Regions from separate parts of the Homo sapiens genome. Here region 2 is linked to region 1. The links are contacts of gene promoters, found by promoter capture Hi-C in blood cells and fetal thymus (Javierre and others, 2016). All regions are on one chromosome and are shown on one strand. Each heading gives the region's core, a stretch centred on a gene start or on the middle of the fragment in contact. The rest is flanking DNA. Distances are from core to core; before and after follow the strand shown.

Region 1 (2,700 bases), core at 184-2,683:
CACCTAATGGGGAAGACAGGCAGGTAGATCGTTACAGCCAGAGAGCAGTATGCCCCTTAGGAGAAATGCCTCATTTGGTAAGATTCAGGAAAGCCATCCCAAGGAAATAGGTCAATCACTCATGTTTGCCAAACGCTAATTTTTACCCTTCTGAGGAAAGCTGTAGACTCCTCAAAAAAACAAACAAAATTTTGCACATAATCTCAGGTATTTGCCTATTCCTTGAAATCCAAATATCTCAGGGTAAAAGTCTAAAGACATTTAATGTTTTCAGTCCAAATTAACCCTCTGTAGCTTGCCACTTTTCCTATTCTAAAAGTATAATTTCCAGGTTAAGGTGAGTATTTTGTACTGTTAATATTCCAGAACCTCGGCCGGGCGCGGTGGCTCATGCCTGTAATCTCAGCACTTTGGGAGGCCGAGGCGGGCGGATCACGAGGTCAGGAGATCGAGACCATCCTGGCTAACACGGTGAAACCCCGACTCTACTAAAAATACAAAAAACTTAGCCAGGCGTGGTGGCAGGCGCCTGTAGTCCCAGCTATTCGGGAGGCTGAGGCAGGAGAATGGCGTGAACCCGGGAGGCGGAGCTTGCAGTGAGCCGAGATCGCGCCACTGTACTCCGGCCTGGGCGACAGAGCGAGACTCCGTCTCAAATAAAATAAAATAAAATAAATTCTAGACTCACCCCATCTTTGTCATCATACAGATTTTAATTATCACCTCGAGTGTTAACCTTTTAATTCTTTGCTAGCCTATGTGTCGCAGTTGTAATTAATAATTCGTATTCTGCTGTTTTAGGAAAGTTCTTTTAAGTTTTGGAGTCACCTTTAAAAAGAATGAAGTTTGAATTTATTAAATTATCTCCTACTAGTAGTAAATAGTTTTGCCTTCCTTTTTGTTTTTTTCCTGAGACTTTCAGGATCCGGTTTTACCTTTTACTCTTGAAGATTCATCATAAACATTATGGATATGGATATGTGCATTTGAGATTGGTTATGAACGGTTGTTAACTTAGACCTCTTTAAACCTTTAACACGGGAGTTAAATACAGCGGGCGAACGCTTTCCGCCTAAGGAGCACTGGTGCTAAGGGGCCGCCCCAGAAGGCCCGGCAGGTCCGGGGGTGGGGGTGCTCGGAGGGAGCCGGGAGGGCCCCGGGCCAATGCCTTCCACTTCCCCACGCCTCAGAGAGCTCACACTCAGCTCCTCGTAATGTTCTGACCGGTTTGGTGTTTGTCATTTCACTTTATTAAGTAAAGAGGAAATCGGGAAAGGAGGAATAGAGAGGGTCCCCGAGTTCATTCAAGAGCAGACCGAGAGATGCTCCGATCCCGAGTCGGGCCGGTGGCGGGGTCAGGCCGGCGCCCGAGGGGGGCGAACGCGGACGCCAGGTCGCGCGGTTTAAATCTCCCGCCTCCCGCAGCGGGAGCCTGACACCTCCACGCACTGGTGCGGAGGGGCACTGGCTGCCGGAGGGCCGGGAGTCGGCGCGGGGCTCGCGGGCGGTGGCCGGAACGGGTGCCGGGACGGATCACCGTACGGCCGAACGCGACCCGAGGAGGCGGAAGAGCGGCGCCGGTAAGCTTCTGCTGCCTCCTGTCCGCCCCTATTCCCCCTCAGGCGGCGGTCAGGCCCGGAGACCAAATCCCGGGTTCCCATGGCGACGCCGGGAGGCGGGGGCGCGGCGGGAGGCTCCGGCCACACGCGCGCGCGCGCGGCTTCTCGGGGCCTTGCTGGCCTCCTCGGTTCTCTGGGGGACCCCGGCCGCTGCCTGCGGCCTTCTTCCAGGCGAGGCCCTGCTCGGGGTTCTTCCGGCCTCCCCCCAGGCAAAACCCGCAAGGAGCGGTTTCTGGCGTGGCTGGGTCCCCTGCGGCGGAAGGGCGCCTCCCGGCCACGCTCGCTGTAGTGAAGGAGCGCGGCAGCCTGGGGCTCGTTTGGGTGATTTCCCTCGGCGGTGGAGGTCGCTCCTAATAGAGGCGGCGGCGGATCACCCGAACAGCCTTCAGGTGCTTCCCTGCTGACCTCTTTTTAACGTGGTGCTTATTTTTATTTCGCTATTATTTTGTAATGGGAATGTCTTCCTTAGAAACTAATTGGCAACCGATGGATAAAAACAAAACATAGTAAATGTGCAGTTTGAGCTGAACTGCAGAATGCACGGGCCCGCGAGGGGCTCCGCGCACAGATCCTGCTCCTTAGGCCGGCAACCCGACCCCACGGCACAGATATGGCTCCTGGAAACGCGCGTCAGCTGGTCAGGTGCCCAGGTGATGTCAGTGGTCAGATACCTGATGCTCTAAGGAAGACGGAGAGGGGAAAGCGGGGAGTCCATCCTGGCAGCTCACCCGCGATGCTGGGGCGTTGCCAGTAGAGGGGGTGGAATCATTTTTCGTGTAATAGATGATCTTGATGCACACAGCATAAAAGCTGTTATAAACTATGGGTCTCTGTAAAATAGATTGTTGGGAAGGTAACATTTTTCCATGGTTTTGATTTTTCCCAAAAGTATTTATGTATTGATTTATTTGGTTCTGACTCAGGCGACGTACTGTAAGACGATATTACTTTAATCATCTTCACATCAGTATTTATGGAATAGCCACAGGTGCCTCATCCTTTAGTAGGAGTTAATTATACATTTACTGGCCGAGTAAACATCTCCGAATGGTATGTATGTATTTTTATGTGACCAAAATTT
Region 2 (2,700 bases), core at 13-2,512, 310 kb after region 1:
GATAATACAAAAGAAAAGTGATTTGCTTTATTTTATACTCACACTGATCCATCAAACACAACTTATACAGCATAGCAAGGCTTCAGACAGCTTATACAAAAGCAAAATAACTGAAATTATTCATAAAGTCATATATGATAGTCTATCTGTAATGTAAGAGCAAAACACACCAACAAAAGATACCCGTTAACAAGAAAGAGGGTTCTGAGGAAGTGCGAGTATTTTCTAGCCTTTCTTTTTCCGGAAAAGCATCCTCAGAAGTGAATACTCCGTAGCTTATGTTTCTCCTGTCCATTCAGAAAAAGCATGACAGCTACGCATCTCCATGTTTCAGCTACTACAACACCCTAAGAGTTAGTGTATTTTACAATTATCCATGTATCTTTATTTGAAAAATTATCAGCAAAAAACTGAGGATGATTCCAGCTTACATAAACACTGATACAATATAATCTCTATGGAAATGAAATAACAAGGCATACAAAAATTGCTTAAATAAATAAATGTGGCCAGAAAAAGAAAAGCCACAGAAGTCAAGCAATTCAGTGTTAAACTGGGACCTATCTTTGAATTGCATCTTTTAGTAATTTTTTCTTACTGTTAAGCTTCTTTAAAAATATGTTTCCTTTACATACTTACGAGGATTGGTAACAAGGTGAAGAGCCTGAGACAAGAGACTGGTTACAGATAACTTCCTAGGATTTTAAGTATATAGCACATCAATTTAGAGCTTGAACTTGTCTGATTCAAAGAAAAATTCTGTTTGACAATGTGATAAATACAGGTTATTTTCTCAAAACCATCCAAGCTATTACTAAAGTTATAAAATATTTAGTTCACTTTTAGAAGGCTTTATAACGTTAAATTGTCTCTTGAGAAAATCCTATCTGACAGGAACTACTTTACCAAGTTCCCTTATTAAAAAACAAACAAAATGAAACAATTTGTCCCATATCATGTATGGTCATTTGACCAAAGAACAGAAATGTAAGTCGTTTTAAGTCAGTGCTTCAACTCTAAAGGCCTAAATTTGTTGCAACATGTAGCCAATTAGTTGAGTCATTCCCTCTGTTCAGTAATTACAGAACTGGGCAACTTTTTATAATTAATGAAATCTGATATTATATCTATGTGAAAAAGTCAAATAAGATGAAACATTAAATGAACTGTGCAACAAACACTTTAAATATTCAACTGGATCTAATTGCTTACTTGCTAACAATTGAACTTTTTCAGTGTACAAAGGGATGAAAGGGGCCCTGAGTTTTTAAGTAACATGATGTCTGTAGAATGCATCTAAAACATGAAGATGTTTCTGAAATCTAAAGGTATAAATAAAATGGATAAAACCCACATGTTGCCTTTTAAAACTGAAAACCAAATCAAGTTGTAGTTTCAAATACAGTAATTTGCTTAAAAATTCAATCATAAACTGGACACCCTAATGATGTGATTTTGTTCTGAAGATTCCTTCTCTCTTACCCAGATTTTAAAATGGGTTTCAAGTTGTTTTAAAAATGTGTATGTTCACAATGTTTAATAGTAACACTACAAACATCACAGTAATAACAGAATTGGACTTTTAAAGATACGATAGATTTATTTTGAGCCTAGTTTTAATATACAGCATAAATTCTTCTGAAGTACTTTCAAATGTATCTGCCATGAGATAAATTTCTAGGTTTTTCTCTATATGCACACTCAACTTAAATCAGTCACCTAAAAGTTAAATGAAAGTTGTATAGTCCAGTCTATGTTGCAAAATAATAAGTATTTCAAAAGTGGTCTACAAAAATGTCCATAGATAATACCTGATTAATGTAGGGTTTGCTTTTGAAAGTTAATCTTGCATTTAGTGTTTAATATTTCATACAAAAAATATGTAAAAGGTTGTGGCTCAATCATAAAACTAAGCTTGCTGCAATATGTTAAAAAATTTTAATGGCAAAATGATATACAATTCTGTGTGCATGGCTTTTTAGTTATAACTAATGAGAATATAAAATCATAAAATTCCACAATAGAAAATGTTAGATAACACAAAAATTAAGTGCCGATTTGCTGGTGGTCTGATGGTTGAATCCACTTTCAAATAGAAACATCTTAACTCTCGATTCTATCAAACTATCAAACTATTACTTAACTGGAGTAATGAATTTGAATATAAAAGAAAATATAATTCTATATTCTTAAATATAAAGTCATTAAAATAGGACTGAGGAGAAGAGCTTAAGCAATTTTGTCTGAAGAATTGAGACTTAAGTGTTCATTGAGAGGCCTGAAGCATACTGAAGACTAAGAATATTGGGGATGATGACCAACTGCTCTTTTTTGTCCTACTGGGTAAAAGAAAAAAATTTAAAATCAAAGAGGAGGGAGACAGAATAGATATGAAGAAAACTTTCCTGACACAGACTACAAATCAGATAACTGAGGTTTGGAGTAAGTCAGACATAAACTATGAGGTGATTTTTTTTGTTTTTTTTTGAGATGGAGTCTCACTCTGTAGCCCAGGCTGGAGTGCATTGGCGCGATCTCGGCTCACTGCAACAACCTCCGCCTCCCGGGTGCAAACGATTCTCCTGTCTCTGCCTCCCGAGTAGCTGGGACTACAGGCGCGTGCCACCATGCCTGGCTAATTATTTGTATTTTTAGTAGAGATGAGGTTTCATCGTGTTAGCCAGGATGATCTCAGTCCCC

What was found. Contacts are between HindIII fragments. The CHiCAGO score rates a contact against its expected background, and 5 or more counts as called.
Region 2: a fragment that was not itself captured here is called in contact with the fragment with the promoter of ICA1L in region 1 in 3 of 17 cell types (total CD4 T cells, total B cells and M0 macrophages); the score reaches 7.5 in total CD4 T cells.

What each region holds. Positions count from the first base shown.
Region 1 is chr2:202,870,499-202,873,198 of GRCh38, reverse strand. It overlaps ICA1L (islet cell autoantigen 1 like), which reads left to right and starts at 1,433. Exons shown (of 13, transcript NM_001288622.3): 1 at 1,433-1,580. RefSeq lists silencers at 1,121-1,250, 1,311-1,360, 1,401-1,890. The HindIII fragment of the contact is 15,476 bases long and covers 1-1,587 here.
Region 2 is chr2:202,564,836-202,567,535 of GRCh38, reverse strand. BMPR2 (bone morphogenetic protein receptor type 2) reads right to left here. Exons shown (of 13, transcript NM_001204.7): 13 at 1-2,700. Among named protein-coding and RNA genes, the nearest start is that of FAM117B, 69 kb to the left of the region's middle. The HindIII fragment of the contact is 1,309 bases long and covers 608-1,916 here.